Regions from separate parts of the Homo sapiens genome. Here all the other regions are linked to region 1. Evidence: promoter capture Hi-C in 16 types of primary human blood cells and fetal thymus (Javierre and others, 2016). All regions are on one chromosome and are shown on one strand. Each heading gives the region's core, a stretch centred on a gene start or on the middle of the fragment in contact. The rest is flanking DNA. Distances are from core to core; before and after follow the strand shown. Region 1 holds the start of CABYR (calcium binding tyrosine phosphorylation regulated). Region 2 overlaps RMC1 (regulator of MON1-CCZ1). Region 3 has its middle 7.6 kb from the start of NPC1. Region 4 overlaps RIOK3 (RIO kinase 3). Region 5 overlaps ANKRD29 (ankyrin repeat domain 29). Region 6 overlaps NPC1 (NPC intracellular cholesterol transporter 1).

Region 1 (2,700 bases), core at 146-2,645:
TATACACCTACTGTGTACTCACAAAAAAAGAATTTTTTAAAAAATCAGAAGTGGGGATTCCGCAGTCCCACATGCTAAATGCTAAGGGGCATAGGCAGCATGACATGTTTGATACATACATACTATTTGATACATATATATATTTGATACATACTCATATATATCATATGTCTAATTTTCTTTAAGTACCCAAAGTGAGTAGATAGACCGTTTTGAAAGTGGCTCCCAGAGGCCGGGCGCGGTGGCTCACGCCTGTAATCCCAGCACTTTGGGAGGCCGAGTCGGGCGGATCACGAGGCGAGGTCAGGAGATGGAGACCATCCTGGCTAACACGGTGAAACCCCGTCTCTACTAAAACAAAAAATCAGCCGGGCGTGGTGGCGGGTGCCTGTAGTCCCAGCTACTCGGGAGGCTGAGGCAGGAGAATGGCGTGAATCCGGGAGGCGGAGCTGACAGCCGAGATCGCGCCACTGCACTCCAGCCTGGGTGACACAGCTAGAGTCCGTCTCAAAAAAAAAAAAAAAGAATAAAAAAGAAAGTGGCTCCCAGAAACCATGATGGCGCCAACAACCTTTCAGGAGGCAGTTAGCAGTTGGTGCTACCAAAGGTGGGGACAGCGGCCATGCACTCCATGATCCCCCGTCCCACTAGTTCTCACCCCGACTTTGGGAACGTGTGGGGCCAGGGACGCTAAACGTCCTACAGTTCAGTTCCCCACAAAGAACTGTCCTAAGCAAGCTGAGAAAAGTCAACGGGTAAAATTGTCACAAACACTATTAGGGTTATTTAAAAGCGACAGCTTAATAATTCTTCCCAGATCTCTCCTATCACCAATACTGGTCCACCACTGGCGGAATTTAAATCCTGCCCCGCCCAACTGTAAACGTCCATGCGCCCACTACCACAAGGGTAACGCCTTAAGCGAGAAATACGATGCCTTTCAGGATGCCAGCGGGGACTTCGGAGCCATAGGTAACCGCACTCCCCGACCTCTCCCTAAAGAACCTCCGGGATGTGGGCCCCCGCTGTGTCAGTGCTCGTTTTGCGCTAGGTCTGTTTGGGAGAGACGGGAGTGAAATGTAGGAGGCTGGGCGTGCTCACATCGCCTGGACTTGTCCAAGAGAGGCGGGCGACGGACCCACCGAGGCCTCAGATTCGGCAGCTGGCCGTCTGGTCGCCGCACTCCCCGGTGTGGGCCGGGGCCGCCCCACAGGCCCCCCACCCCCGACTCTGAGGACCCTCCGCCTGCCCCGACGACCTCTCCCACTGCGAGAGACTCCCTGAGACATAATGGTCTCCGAGGCCGCAGGGTGCGCCTTTTCTCCAGATTCTCCCCACCTGCTTTCCGGCCGCGCTCTTAAGAGCTTCCTCGTTGCCCCCTTGCCGGCGGCTCCTGAGGAGACTTGGCGCTTGCGAGCGTTTTTATAGCCCCGCAGGCATCGGGGCGTGCATCACGAAGCTCCGCATCACAAAGCTCCGCACCACTCAAGGAGGCGGGGCCACAGCGGCCGCAGCCAATGGGGAGCCGAAAGCGACAAAGGCCATGATTTGGCCGGCGAGGGAGACTTATTTCCCCTTTTCTGGCTAAATCTGAACGGATTTAGGTGATTTCCCAACAAATAGCCAGGAGTAGCTCAAAGCGACTGCCTCTCCGTCTTTGGTCGTTGAGCTTAAAATTAGAGCTCGTTTGGAAAGAAAGTAAGAGATTTATGGCAGTGCTGTCTTGTCACTGCCTCGCCATTCCACACATTGCTCCTGGCCCCATAAACTATAGCTCTCTTCGGTCACCTTTAGGAATAATAATTTCTGCCACGTTGTAGACACACAGTGAATAATTGTATGCAACAGAGCACTTTTTCTTTTGTGAAACTCGCCTGTGGAATGGGAGTTCAGCATGAATCCAGAAACTTCCTGTTTCTCCACAGTTGAGATCAGACACCAACTATCCCCACAAAGCACACCGTCAGCAACAAGTCAAGGTGTTACTGTGTGTAACTTCAGCTCAATTTTACCAAACTAAAGGAATACTGCTTCATTTAAAAACGCCCACTCTGCCGGGCACGGTGGCTCACGCCTGTAATCCCAGCACTTTCGGAGGCCGAGGCGGGTGGATCACGAGGTCAGGAGTTCAAGACCAGCCTGGCCAAGATGGTGAAACCCTGTCTCTACTAAAAATACAAAATATTAGCCGGTCGTGGTGGTGGGTGCCTGTAATCCCAGCTACTCTGGAGGTTGAGGCAGAGAATTGCTTGAACCTGGGAGGCGGAGGTTGCAGTGAGCCCAGATCACACCACTGCACTCCAGCCTGGGCTACTGAGCGAGACTCCGTCTCAAAAAAACAAAAAACAAAACAAAAAAAACAAAAAAACGCCCACTCTCTGCTCTTTCACTCATTTAGGCTCAGGTATTTGGGCTGGGCTCTAAATAACACCATAATCATGATTATCAGAGTACAAGCAGCCTTAATTTTGATCCATCTTCAAATGTTTAAAAAGCAACTACTTTAAACCAAAGAGCATCGCCAGGGCAGATATCTGACCAAAAACAAAACAAAACAAAACAAAAACCAAACCAAAATAAAACAAAACCCTATTTTTTAATTCAGAAAAAATTAGGGCTTCCAGAGCACTTTGCAATAAAAGCAATGTTAAGGCCTCAGTCAGCATTATCTGGTGCCATTCATTAATCCACTTAATAATT
Region 2 (2,700 bases), core at 127-2,626, 620 kb after region 1:
GACACAAAAGTCAATACTTTTTAATGTCATTACGAAATGTTTATTCAATTGTAGTCAAGGAAGAAATGAACTGTTCCGTCTCACTGAAAGCACGTACGGGGAGGAAGGGGGAAGGAGCTAACAATCCAGGAAAATCTCACCAAGAAAAAGAAAGCATGTCAAGGCTTCAATCACTGTGGTTTGGGTTATTTTTAATAACCAAAGATGACTCATGATCGTTTACATATGCACGTTAAGGAACTGAGAAATTTACTTGAAGGATTCAAAATCAAATACCCAGATCATCCACGGAGAATGTTTCAAATAAATGTGGCTTGTAGCTTAATTATCTTTTTTTTTCTTTAAGAGAGGGTGTTGCTCTGCTGTCCAGGCTTGAGTGCAGTAGTTGATCATAGCCCACTATAACCACGAACTCCTTGGCTCAAGTGGTCCTCCTGCCTCAGCCTTCAGAGTAGCTAGGACTACAGGCATGTGACCATGCCCTAACTTTTTTTCTTTTTTTTTTTTTTTTTTTTTTTTTTGTGAAGACAAGGTCTATGTTACCTAGGCTGGTCTCCAACTCCTGGGCTTAAGTGATCTGCCCACCTCAGCCTCCCAACATGCTGCGATTACAGGCATGAGCCACTGTGCCCAGCCACTTAATTATCTAAATAATTAGTTCGATTATCCATTGCATAGAGTAGGTCCAAGCACAGTGAGCTCGTCTGGGAAGCAGACCCCCAAAACCTCACATGACAGGGACCGTTAACAACCAGTTATACTGCTCATGAGCCATGCAGGCAGCCCTACAAGCTAACCATGACTCCTGGTTCTGTTCCAATTACCCAGGTACAATCAGAAGGCAGGTTTCAATCAGCTGGTCAGAGAAAGGGTCATTGTGAACAGACCACCCAAAGGTAGGAAAGAGCCCAGGCAGACAAGCTTTGGCGAAGAGCACTCGCGCTTTGGACCTAAGTGTCAAGGTCTGCGCCGAGTGCACAGCCCTCACCTTTGGGTGGCTGACCTACACACTGTCAGGTGAGAGCTTTCATTTTTAAGGCCCCCCAGATGATCCTAATATGTAGTCAGATTGAGACCCACTGTTCTAACAGGCCCAAAACAAAAAGAAAAAGGGTGGCTGACTCTTCCCAAAAGTGCTGGTTATATCTTTCTCAACAGGCCCATTCAATTCCTGAGCACGCCCACCCAGTGGCAGCACAGTGGGCAAGACACACGGATGCATCAAGCCGCCAGGGCTCACAGCCCAGCAGGAAACAAAAGGAGAGTCACTAACCTCTGAAAATGCTTTGCAGCCCACACTACCTAGATCCCCAGACCCTCAGTGGATTCCTGATTTCCTCCTATTGATCTCTGCACGGGCTGTTACTGTGACCAGGCCTCGCATCTGTTCCCTTATGACCAGATGGTTAGAACCTGATGCCTCCTAACTGGTCCTGTACCACCGGAACAGAGCTGAAGGTTCTAAGCCAGGGGTGTCCAATGTTTTGGCTTCCCTGGGCCTTAAGAGGAAGAAGAAGAATGGTCTTGGGCCACACATAAAATACACTAACACTAACAATAGCTGATGAGCTTAAAAAATATCATTAAAAAAATCTCATAATGTTTTAAGAAAGTTTAAGAATTTGTGTTGGGCTGCATTCAAAGCTGTCCTGGGCCACATGTGGCCCACAGACCGTGGGTTGGACAGGCTTGTTCTAAATGTTTAGTTTTTTTCCCCCAATTCACCAGCAGTTACCTTCATGCCAAGTGGGCAGCAGACACAAGACAATCACTTGGCAAAATCTATTCTTTCAATACTAACATTATTTACAAAGGAAAAGGAAGAAGCTTGAAAGAACACAGAAAGCCAAAAGACCTAATTGAACGTCTGTTAAGAACCAGCTCCTTCCTCCAACTGTGCCAGAAAGTAACTAAGCTTTTGGCTGGTCCAGCAAGACAGGGCAGTCAGGCTGACAATGGTGCTCTTGCTGAACTTTCAGCCAGAGTGCGATTCTGAACTCCCGGGTGAACGGTACAAGGAAATCCTGACTGCAGGCTGGGTCAACCCGCCCAATGCCATCGGACAAAGAATAAAACATTACTACTAGGGTTCCAAATGTGAGCCATCTGACTACGTCTTGCACACTGAAACCTCAGACTAGCCAATTCTGCACTCCAATCTCCTTCAAAAGAGAGCCGGGAGAGACTGCTGCGAGGGACAGGCACAGAAGAAAGACCCTGTGAGAACACAGTGAGAAGGTGGCCATCTGCAAAGAGGCCTGCCAGGAGGGAGGCCTCAGAAGAAAGCAAACCTGCAGACATCTTGATCTTGAACTTCTAGCCTCCAGAACTGTGAGAAAATAAAGTTCTGTTTAAGGAAAAAAAAAAAAGAGAGAGAGTGTGTGTTGAATATTCTTTCAGTTCTATCTTAAAATCAATTACACTGGAAAAAGGCAAAACGAAGCAAATAAATGACTTCTTTCCCTTTTCCTGAATTCCTGACCTCCACTCTTCTGACTTCCCAACCCCACCTCTCCAGACAGAAGGAGGACTGATTTGGGTAAGCCTAAGAGCCACAGCCGAAGCACTTACTGTGACTGTCAGTCCCAAAGAATGCAATATTCATCATCACTGTCACACGGAATGTGAGAAAGAGAAAAGTGATCCCAGGTTACAGTAACAAACCTACAGCCAAAGTTAATTTCAGCGTTACAGAGCTAA
Region 3 (2,700 bases), core at 42-2,541, 540 kb after region 1:
CATGTTGCCCAGGCTGGCCTCCAAATCTTGGACTCAAGCGATCTGCCTGCCTTGGCCTCTCAAAGTGCTAGGATTACAGGCATGAGCCACCTTGCCCAGCCAAATTGGTGAACTTCATCTCACTGTGAAAAGATGCTAAAGTGCTTAGAACATGCCTGGCTGTGAACAAAGCCACACCATGTTATGATATTTCATGCCATTGAGCCATAGCAGCTCAGACCCTAGTATTTGTACTTCAAAGCATGGAGAAAAACAAAAACAAAAAATGACAGGCAAAACTAGCATTAGACATTCTAGTCGAGAAATGTGAAAATAATTATTCTTCTGCTTAATGTAATGAACACATGGAGGGTAAACTAGTCACACAGAGGTGTTTTCTCTGGGCCCTCTGACTATACTTAGCCCTCAGTTAAATAACCTATGTATCACTGGGTCTGGAAAGTCTTCGATTCTTTTCCTGGTGACCTAATCCTTATTTTTAGCAATACTTTCAGGTAATTTTAAAATATGAGTGAGGCTAGGCATGGTGGCTCATGCTTCTAATCCCAGCACTTTGGGAGGCTGGGGTGGGAAAAGCACTTGAGCCCAAGAGTTTGAGACTAGCCTGGGCAACAAAGTGAGACTCCGTCTGTACAAAAAATACAAAAAATTAGCCTGGCATGGTGGTGTGTGCCAGAAGTCCCAGCTACTCAGGAGGCTAAGGTAGGAGGATCACTTGAGCCTTGGGAGGTCGAGCTGTGATCTCACTACTGCACTCCAGCCTGGGTAATAGAGCAATTCCCTCTCTCTCAAAAAAAAAATTAATTTATTAATATGAATGAGGTTATGTTTCAACAAAGGAATTCAGCTAGGCACAGTGGCTCACATCTATAATCCCAGCACTTTGGGAGGCCAAGGCGGGCAGATCACTTGAGGCCAGGAGGTCGAGACCAGCCTGGCCAACATGCCGAAACCCTGTCCCTACTAAAACTTAATAAATTAGCCAGGTGTGGTGGTGGGCGCCCATAATCCCAGCTACTCAGGAGGCTGAGGCAGGAAAATCACTTGAACCCAGGAGGCGGAGGTTGCAGTGAGCCAAGATCGCACCACTGAACTCCAGCCTGGGCGACAGAGTGTGACTCCATCTCAAAAAGTAAAAATAAAATAAAGTAAAATAAAAATAACATAAAGGAAGTTAATTAAAGATCTTCAGTTCTTAGGTGACATGTCAGCCTTATCTCTGTCAACAGAAAAAATTCCTTCCGCTATCTTTGGTTCTTCTTCCCTCCCTCACTAGGATTGAATCCTCCGAGCTTTAATGAGTGAAATGCTGTTGTTATTCCTACATTTCAAGTTTTAAGAATAGTCTTAGAAAGTCTTCAGTTTACAGGAGTTGGACTCTCCATTTTAGGAAACATTTGATCAAAAACCACCCCTGGCAAAGGAAACTATGTCCTGTGAGCAAATCCTGCAGGGAAGGCAATGCCAGTTTGAAACCCTGACTGCTAAACCACAAGTCATTCCAACTCTGGTAGCATCCTAACTGAGTGGAAGTTACACCACAACCCATGACTGGATTAATCACCAACTCAAACATCCTTCCTTACTAGGATGAGTAACATTTTACCAGAATTCTGAGCAACAATGCCCATTTCCGAGTAGGTCATAACCATTGGTACTAAAGTCATGAGTTGTAGCTGTAAGCTATTTTAAATGAAGATGTCTATAAAATTTGGCTTGCGTAAGTAAAGAGTTTAAAAAGTCTATCACAGAACCCAAAGTAATTGAGTGTGTATACTGAACACATGACCTGTACAACAGTGCTCACAGCACCTTTATTTGTAACAGCCCAAACTGGAAGAAGAAACAACCCAGATGTCTGCCATGATATGTTTGAGCCATGGAATACTACACAGCAATTCTTTTAAAAGATGCTACCACCACAAGTAATGTGGATGAGCCACACACATAATGTTCAGTGAAAGAAACCAGACGCAGAGGAGTATGATTCCCTTTACATGAAGTTCAAGGACAGGCAAAACCAACTTACAGTGAGAGAAATCAGAAGAGTGGTTGCCTCCCGGTTAAAGGAGGGGTGATGATATCGACTGGGAAAGGGGCATAAAGGAGGCTTCTGAAGTGCTAAAGTTTCCATATCCTTCCTCTGGGTGTTGGCTACATGGATGTTGTGGTTGCCAGCCTCCAAGATGGCCCCAGTGCTCCCCTCCTCTTGTCCTTGTCTGGTCCCCTTCCTACACTGCATCAGGACTGGTCTGTGTGCCCAGTATTACATGGCAGAAGTGATGGCATATAACATTTGAGGCTAACTCATAACAGACATTATGGCTCTGCCTTGCTCTCAATCCCTTTTGGATCACTCCTTCTGGAGGAAGCCAGCTGCCAAGTCCTGAGGACACTCAGCAGCCTATGGAGAGGAGGAACTGAGGCCTCCTTCCCACAGCATCTTTTTTTTTTTTTTTTTTGAGACAGAGTCTTGCTCAGTCACCCAGGCAGGAGTGCAGTGGCATGATCTCAGCTCACTGGAACCTCGGCCTCCTGGGTTCAAGCAATTCACCTGCCTCAGCCTCCCGAGTAGTTGAGATTACAGACATGTGCAACCATGCCCGGCTAATTTTTGTATTTTTAGTGGAGACAGGGTTTCACCATGTTGGCCAGGCTGGTCTCGAACTCCTGACCTCAAGTGATCCGCCCACCTTGGCC
Region 4 (2,700 bases), core at 186-2,685, 670 kb after region 1:
ATCAGAAGGAGAGAAAATATGTCATTTATTCAATAAATATCTAATCAGGGCCTGCAATGAGCTGGCACTATGTTCTACCCTGGTGATGTGGGAATACAAAGACAGTAAAACACAGCCTCTGCCCATAGAGAGCTCAGGGACTGATGGAAATGACAGACAAGAGACAATTACAATTACGCACTGGCAGAGGTATGGGTAGGAGCTACAGGAGCACACAGCACCAAGGATGGCTTATTAGAAGAAGAGGTAGGGAACAGGAATTAGCCAGATAAAGACAGTGCAAGGGAATGCAGGGAGGTGTTCAAGAGCACAGTCCATTTGGGGAATGTATATCAATCAACATAGCTGGATCTGTGAGTAGGAGGAAGGGCAATGTGGGCTGAGGCTACAAAGACAGGCAAGCTCCACTATGGAAAACTGTTGAAGAATTTTAAGAAAGGCAGGAATTTCAGGAGTACAGAAAAGAGACTGGAGGACAGCAAGACCTTCTAGAAAATGATTCTACCTGGAATTAATTAATTTATTGAAAAAACATTTTTTTTTCTTTTTGAGACAAGGTCTTGGGAGTCTAACGTTTCCAGGCTGGTTTTGAACTCCTAGGTTCAAGCAGTCCTCCCATCTCAGCCTCCCAAGTAGCTGGGAGTACACGTGCACACCATGCCTGGCTTATTTTGGTGGGGAACTCTCAGTAGAAGAATTTTGTAACTGATATATATGAATAATTACTTTTGAAAGCAAATATCTTTAGAAAATAACAAACTAAAATTAAGCTTTTAATAAATTAAGATAATAGAAAGGTTTTTAATGAGAAGGATTATTACTGAATTTCTTGGTTGACAAAACAAATTCTTTGATAGAAAATAAATTGCTTAGAAAATTCAGATACAAGTATAAAAATTAAAACAAAATGTAATTTGATTGGTAAGAACTTACTCCCACAAAATTAACAAATTAAATGCAACAAACATTTTCTGAAACAAAAAAGAAACCATTTTTTTATGCTAAGCCTAATTGGATGCTGGAAGTTTTACTTCGTGATAAAAGCAATTTAAAAATGGCATTTAGATATATGATAAAGTGTCTAAGGCAGAAAATGCCCAGATTTCCCTCAAGCTTCATTGAGGAAAGAAAAAAGAAAATGGCTTTTTCATCCTAAAAGTATGAATCGAGGTTATACACCTGGCCTTTCATTATTTCTATAAATGAATGTAAAAGAAAGCATGGATTTTTTTATCCTAATGCAAAAAGGTATTTACCCAAGATTACGTCTAGCACAATATTTTCTTTACCTTGCGAGATTGTGCATTTCTTTTTCTGCCCACATGCGGATGATCTTACGTGGATTTAGTTTACTGAAGCGATCTTTAAACCTGAAATCATCTTTAATATATTTGTCACGATTCTTAAATTCATTAAGGGTTGTTTTAAATACCTTGATGGCACATTCTGTAGGTATAACTTTACTATCTTCCTTTTCATCCTCCATGCTAAGTGGAAGAAAAAAAATCAAGTCAGTACAAGTTGCCAGCTCACAAGTACAACAATTTCAAAATAAAGATTCTGTAACACTAAATTAGATCTACCTTCTCTCAGTGTCAAGTCTTGTTTTTTTAAGCCTTTAGGTTTTGGATCTTAATAAAGCCTTAGGTTTTGGTTTGATTTTTTAAATAAAATATACTTTCAAATAAATTGTCAACCGATTTTCAACCATCTATCACATAATGTTCTTCACTTAATGACTACGGAATCAAGCTTGAAATACAATGAAGACATATGCACTTGAAAATAGGCTACAGTCTTCCCAATATGGTTCAGGAGCAAAATTCAATAAAAAGCAACAAATAAAACAGCTTTTTAAAAAATAACTCTTTCACTCCTAGCAGACATAAAGGTGAATCAAATGGTTCCTGCCCCACAAGTCTGCAAGAAGTGGCAACGGAGAATAAAAGAAGTACATGAATAGGAAAGGTCCCTCTTCATTGGAAAGGTCAGGCAAGACTTCATGGCACAAGTGCCATCTGAAACAGAAACAGGACAATGGGTAGGATTTGAACAGCATGAACAAAAGCAGAGGCAGGAAACCACAGGACATGTCTGAGGAACAACAAACACTATAGTTAAGACTTGGCTGGAGAGAGATAATGAAAAAAAATTGGAGCTAAAGGACAGGACAGAGGCACATCTGTGAAGAGCCTGGACAAATTCCTAGAGGTGGTGGGGAATCGCGAGGGTTTCTGTGTATGGCACTCTCAAATGCGTGCTTCATGAAGATCGAGTGAACGATACTGTCAGAATGGAAGGGCACAGGGACAGGCTAGAGGTGTGGGGTCGACTCAGGATGCTACTGCAATAGTCCCCCAATAGTGAGCTTCAGTCATGATGGTGGCAGTGGGAATGAAAAAGTGGATGGAATGAGAAACAATATTAATATTTACCTTTAAATATCTGATAGGATGTTAATCTGGGAAAGAAAGGAACTATATTTCCAAAGGACAGAATCTGAATCAAACCTCCTTCTGTACCATATTCTCCCAGCTGACTCCTCTTCCATTTAGTCTCAAAAGGTTAAAGTCCTTCACCTGGTTCTAAGAAACCTTCCTTCTCTTCCTGGGCAATTTCACTTAGCCCCATGGCTCTAAATATCATCTCTATATAGACAACTCCCACATTTCTTTTTTTTTTTGAGACAGAGTCTCACTT
Region 5 (2,700 bases), core at 136-2,635, 530 kb after region 1:
ATATTACAAAATATTTTTCGTCTTTTAATCTTTTTAAAATCATTTAAAAATGTAAAAACAGTCTGAGTGCAGTGATTTATCCCTATAATCCAGCACTTTGGGAGGCTGAGGCAGGAAGACTGCTTGAGGCCAGGAGTTAGAGACCAGCCTGGAGAATATAGTAAGACCCTATCTCTACAAAAGTTTAAAAATTAGATGGATGCCATGGTGTGTGGCTGTAGTCCCAGCTGAGGCAGGAGGATTGCTTGAGCCCAGGAGTTCAAGGTTACTGTGAGCTGTGATTGTATCTTTGCACTTCTGCCAGGGCAACGGAGTGAAACCCTGCCTCTGCAAAAATTTTTAAAAGTAGAAGCCGTTCTTAGCTTGCAGGATTTGATTTGCAGGCTGTGGTTTGCTGACCCCTGAGATATAATGCTCCTGTTTTATTACATACAGGACACCAAATCTGTTCTAAATGGACACAGCGGCTTAGCTTTAGGACTGTCCTCTCAGAGTCTATCAATGTATATAAAACCTACTTGCCCTTGAATGACCCCAGACACTTTTTGGATATTTTGTGTCTGCTCTTTATATTTTTAGATTCCATTCTTGCTGACAGTTAATACAGAACTGCTGTTGTCAATGTGTTGGCCTCTCTCCCCTGCCCTAATGAGCTCATGAGCTACTTTCATCTGCCATGAGCTTTTTTTTTTTTTTTTTGGAGACAGGGTCTCGCTATGTTGCCCAGGCTGGTCTTGACCTTTGAACTCCTGGGCTCAAGTGATTCTCTCATCCTCCTGCCTCAGCCTCCTAAAGCGCTGGGATTACAGGTGTGAGCCACTGTGTCTGGCCTGCCATGAGCTTTAGAAGCCAGAAAGCTGCACTTGTTAAAATTGTTTGTAAAGTAAGAATAAACCATCTATGAAAATGAATTCTATGAACAAAAGGAATAAGCTTTAGAAAGCTTGGACTTTGCAAAATATAGTCTTGTTTCAAACAGCTCTTTTTTGGCTTTTTAAAAACTCCTGGTCTGGTGTGGTGGCTCACACCTGTAATCCTAGCTCTTTGGGAGGCCAAGGTGGGCGAATCACCTGAGATTAGGAGTTCAAGACCAGCTTGGCCAATGTGGTGAAACCCCGTCTCTACTAAAAATACAAAAATAAGCCAAGAGTGGTGGTGTACACCTGTAATCCCAGCTACTCAGGAGTTTGAGGCAGGAGAACCTGGGAGGCAGAGGTTGCAATGAGCCGAGATCACGCCACTGCACTCCAGCCCAGGTGACAAGAGCAAAACTCCATCTCCAGAAAAAAGAAAAAAAAGAGGCCAAAAAGCTGCACTTGTTAAAATTGTTTGTAAAGGCCGGGCACACTGGCTCACGCTTGTAATCCCAGCACTTTGGGAGGCAAAGGCGGGTGGATCACCTGAGGTCAGGAGTTCAAGACCAGCCTGGCCAACATGATGAAACCCTGTCTCTACAAAAATACAAAAATTAGCTGGGCGTGGGGGCTCATGCCTGTAATCCCAGCACTTTGGAAGGCCAAGGCAGGAGGATCACGAGGTCAGGAAATCAAGACCATCCTGGCTAACACGGTGAAACCCTGTCTCTACTAAAAATACAAAAAATTAGCCGGGTGTGTGGCGGGCGCCTGTAGTGCCAGCTACTTGGAAGACTGAGGCAGGAGAATGGCGTGAACCCGGGAGGCAGAGCTTGCAGTGAGCCGAGATCACACCACTGCACTCAAGCCTGGGTGACAAAGCAAGACTCCGTATCAAAAAAAAAAAAAAAATTGTAAAGTAAAAATAAACCATCTATGAAAGTGAATTCTATGAATAAAAGGAACAAGCTTTAGAAAGCTTGAACTTTGCAAAATCTAATCTTGTTTCAAATAGCTCTTTTTTGGCTTTTTAAAAACTCCTGGTCAGGCATGGTGGCTCACACCTGTAATCCCAGCCCTTTGGGAGGCTGAGGTGGGCAAAACACCTGAGCTCAGGAGTTGGCGACCAGCCCAGGCAACATGGCGAAACCCTGTCTCTACAAAAAATACAAAAATTAGCAGAGTGGCTGTTACACACCTGTAGTCCCAGCTACTCAGGAGGCTGAGGCACGAGAATCGTTTGAGCCCTGGAGGCAGAGGTTGCAGTGAACTGAGATTGCGCCATTGCACTCCAGCCTGGGAGACAGAGCGAGACACTGTCTCCAAAAAAAAAAAAAAAAAAAAAAAAATTCTGACCCGTGTTGCATGTAGGTGAAGTTGATAGATTGGCTAAGATTTAGACAAGTAAATTGTTACAAGAGTAGTGAATTATCATACATACTTAAAAGCAACCATAGAAAAATGCTACTTTGTGGGAATTTTTCTCTGGGTATGATATTTTACTCTTTTACAAAATCAGAGTGGTTTTTATTATGAGCAACTAATTAGGAAACTAAGTTTGCATTAGGTACTATTTATGGACATATGTACCCTCTAGAACCATGTCTTATGACTGCCCACTGTTCTTAGTTTTGTTATAGTCTCCTCCCCTCCTCTCCGTGGTCCAGCTACATGCTGCATTTAGCTGGTTCCTTATTTTGATAAATATTTGCAGTAAATGTCATAAAACATTAACAACTGACCTATGAGGCCCTTCTGTGCTCAAAAATGCTCCAACTCAAAGCTCCGGGGCATTGCCTCACCCCACATACCCTTCCTCTTAAGCCCTGTAGCTCCACAATCACAG
Region 6 (2,700 bases), core at 201-2,700, 600 kb after region 1:
ATCTCGGCTCACTGCAGCCTCCGCCTCCCGGGTTCAAGCGATTTTCCTGCCTCAGCCTCCCAAATAGCTGGGATTAAAGGCACGTACCACCATGCCCAGTTAATTTTTTGCATTTTTAATAGAGATGGGGTTTCACCATGTTGGCCAGGCTGGTCTCGAACTCCTGACCTCAGGTGATGTACCTGCCTCGGCCTCCCAAAGTGCTGAGATTACAGGCGTGAGCCCCCGTGCCCAGCCCGTGTTGTCTCCTTTTTTTAAGCTTTGTTCTGCACTGGGAAAGTATCACTGGACCACAGAAAAATTGGCAGCAGTAACTTAGGTGTGATTTTGCAAGTGGCTTCCTTCTCATTTAACTGTCAGGACAGCATTGATGTTGGGGTTCAGGGTGAAAGAGACCTAGAGTTCGTCTTGCCACTTTCCCCTTTTAGTAGCCACTGGGAATGTTGATAGTTGAAAATGGCATCCTTGAGTAGCCACTGAATCCTTCTCCACATGACACTCTAAGCAGCAGCTCCCAAATCCACAGGCACTCGCTTACAAGATGTTTGCCGTTGTTTTCAAAGGCAGTCTTTCTCTTCTGTGCACACAACTCATTGGGGAAGCAGCCTTGTTAATGACCAGAAGCTCTTGACTCACCACATTACAAGGAGCCAGAATAAGCTGGAACAAAGTCAGCACTTCTGTGTTTCTTTCACATAGAGAATCATCAAATAGACCCACTAGTGGGGCTGTCTGCCCCATGTCTGAAGTGTAGTAAGAGCAAAGTGACTCTGTCCACTATAGGGGAGGCTGGACTGGAATCACTCAGTCCAAAGAAGACCATCCACGGGCCACAAACTGCAATGCCTACATGGCTGGGAGGTCAGCTTAATCAGGGCCATTGTAAGGTCATTGTAGGTGGTAGTCTTTCACCACAGATACACTGCTAGCTTGTTATTCTTCATCTCCACAAAGCCATGTGCTTTTGAAACCTGTAGCCCTGTAGTTCCTTTTGACAAACACAGGTGCAGAAAAAAAAAAAAAAAAGAAAAAACTTTCTTTTTTTCACTACTATTATAAGAAAACCAGTGCAAGTGTGATGATAATAGCAGCAGAGACTGTGCCTCAAGGTTGGAGTGACCTTGGGACAGTAGGAGTGAGTAGGGATTGTGGCACCCCAACTGCACGTGTCCTATCTAAAAAGACAGTTATGTGTGTGGCCAACCCAGTGCTACAAGGTCTGTGTTGTTGTTGTTGTTTTTCTTCCAAGCAAAGCTGTGAATCTAGATTTTTGTGTAAAATGCCATTGTTAAATATTGGCAACTTATAAAAAAAAGTTTTTTAATCTTAAGATGGGTTGATACAGTGTGGGCTAAACAGGAACCATCTGATTCATGGGCTGCCAGTTTGCAGTTTCCAAGTCTTACCCTCATGCCTTTGATCCTCACTCGATTGTAGATTACCTCTTAACTAAACTGGGAGGCTAGTAGTGTTGATGTAATAAATGGAAAATACTGTCCATTTCTTACAGTGAAGCACAGAAAGTACTATAAGAAATGGCCTGTATTAGTGGTTCTCAAATTTTAATGTGTGTGAATTTGCTGTGAACCTGAGTATAGTAGAATTGGGGTTGAATTCCTGTCATAACTAGGATGGGGCTTCCCAAATGGTCTGGTGCTGAGTGTGCTTTGAAAAGCACTGGCTTATCACCTCCTGTCCCACTTCTGGTGTAATGTCCAGCCGCAGCATGCCTTCTCATGCGTTTGGCCTGTGCTGGCTCCTTGTATCTGTACATGCACATGAACATAAGACCTGCAGAGAGCCCCCGGCTGTAAACAGAAGTGACGCAGAGCCCTTCTCTCCCCGACAGGAGCATTGTCCGTGATGCCAGCCGTGCACACCTTCTCTCTCTTTGCGGGATTGGCAGTCTTCATTGACTTTCTTCTGCAGATTACCTGTTTCGTGAGTCTCTTGGGGTTAGACATTAAACGTCAAGAGGTAAGTTGGTGCCAGGATTATAGTCTATTTAATTTGAGTCTAGAATCTAGAGGAAGCAGCTAGCGGGTATAACCTTTGTTTCCCTCTGTCCCCTCAGAAAAATCGGCTAGACATCTTTTGCTGTGTCAGAGGTGCTGAAGATGGAACAAGCGTCCAGGCCTCAGAGAGCTGTTTGTTTCGCTTCTTCAAAAACTCCTATTCTCCACTTCTGCTAAAGGACTGGATGAGACCAATTGTGGTATGCGCTTATCTGTGGTTTTTCTCTTTCCTCTCACTGAAACAGATTATCACATGCCTTCTAAGAAGCCAGACAGCCTGGGAAGGAGATTCTTAAAGCTGTTAAAATGTATCTAAAAAAAAAGCAAAAGCAAATGTGGAACAGTAGATAAAATGTTTTTCCTGTGAGCTTTTATCAGTCCATATAAACAAGAGTTTTAAGTTTTTTATTTTGAAATAGTTTCAGATTCACAGAAAGTTGCAAAGAAACTTTTATTTTTCCTCTTAATAATGAGGAAATAGAAGCCAAGAGAGGTGAAGTGGTTTGCCCCAAGTCACTCAGCCCGTAAGTGGCAGAGTCAGGATTTGCACCCAGGAATTTGGACTCCTGGTGCTGTGGTCTCACCCACTGCCCTGTACTCCCTATTAGCCTGTCATTTAAGCTTTTCCATTTTAAAAAATCCTGCTTTTTGTGTGTGCTTAAGATTTTATTTCTGGTCGTAAGCT

The links. Contacts are between HindIII fragments. The CHiCAGO score rates a contact against its expected background, and 5 or more counts as called.
Region 2: a fragment that was not itself captured here is called in contact with the fragment with the promoter of CABYR in region 1 in 1 of 17 cell types (total CD8 T cells); the score reaches 5.1 in total CD8 T cells.
Region 3: a fragment that was not itself captured here is called in contact with the fragment with the promoter of CABYR in region 1 in 1 of 17 cell types (non-activated CD4 T cells); the score reaches 6.8 in non-activated CD4 T cells.
Region 4: a fragment that was not itself captured here is called in contact with the fragment with the promoter of CABYR in region 1 in 3 of 17 cell types (total CD4 T cells, naive CD4 T cells and non-activated CD4 T cells); the score reaches 9.4 in total CD4 T cells.
Region 5: a contact is called between a fragment that was not itself captured here and the fragment with the promoter of CABYR in region 1, in 2 of 17 cell types (activated CD4 T cells and total CD4 T cells). The highest score is 6.2, in activated CD4 T cells.
Region 6: a fragment that was not itself captured here is called in contact with the fragment with the promoter of CABYR in region 1 in 1 of 17 cell types (total CD4 T cells); the score reaches 6.0 in total CD4 T cells.

The regions. Positions count from the first base shown.
Region 1 is chr18:24,137,757-24,140,456 of GRCh38, reverse strand. CABYR (calcium binding tyrosine phosphorylation regulated) reads right to left here and starts at 1,395. Exons shown (of 6, transcript NM_153769.3): 1 at 1,339-1,395. RefSeq lists an enhancer at 1,751-1,810. The HindIII fragment of the contact is 10,284 bases long and covers 1-2,700 here.
Region 2 is chr18:23,521,365-23,524,064 of GRCh38, reverse strand. The region is part of intron 10 of RMC1 (regulator of MON1-CCZ1); the gene reads right to left. It also overlaps a transcript of NPC1 not described here. Among named protein-coding and RNA genes, the nearest start is that of RMC1, 19 kb to the right of the region's middle. The HindIII fragment of the contact is 906 bases long and covers 924-1,829 here.
Region 3 is chr18:23,592,801-23,595,500 of GRCh38, reverse strand. No RefSeq gene overlaps it. Among named protein-coding and RNA genes, the nearest start is that of NPC1, 7.6 kb to the right of the region's middle. The HindIII fragment of the contact is 6,264 bases long and covers 1-2,700 here.
Region 4 is chr18:23,472,216-23,474,915 of GRCh38, reverse strand. It overlaps RIOK3 (RIO kinase 3), which reads right to left. Exons shown (of 13, transcript NM_003831.5): 8 at 1,290-1,487. Among named protein-coding and RNA genes, the nearest start is that of RIOK3, 20 kb to the right of the region's middle. The HindIII fragment of the contact is 639 bases long and covers 1,116-1,754 here.
Region 5 is chr18:23,612,668-23,615,367 of GRCh38, reverse strand. The region is part of intron 8 of ANKRD29 (ankyrin repeat domain 29); the gene reads left to right. Among named protein-coding and RNA genes, the nearest start is that of NPC1, 28 kb to the right of the region's middle. The HindIII fragment of the contact is 880 bases long and covers 946-1,825 here.
Region 6 is chr18:23,540,583-23,543,282 of GRCh38, reverse strand. NPC1 (NPC intracellular cholesterol transporter 1) reads left to right here. Exons shown (of 25, transcript NM_000271.5): 15 at 1,850-1,977; 16 at 2,075-2,215. Among named protein-coding and RNA genes, the nearest start is that of RMC1, 38 kb to the right of the region's middle. RefSeq lists an enhancer at 956-1,005. The HindIII fragment of the contact is 2,377 bases long and covers 262-2,638 here.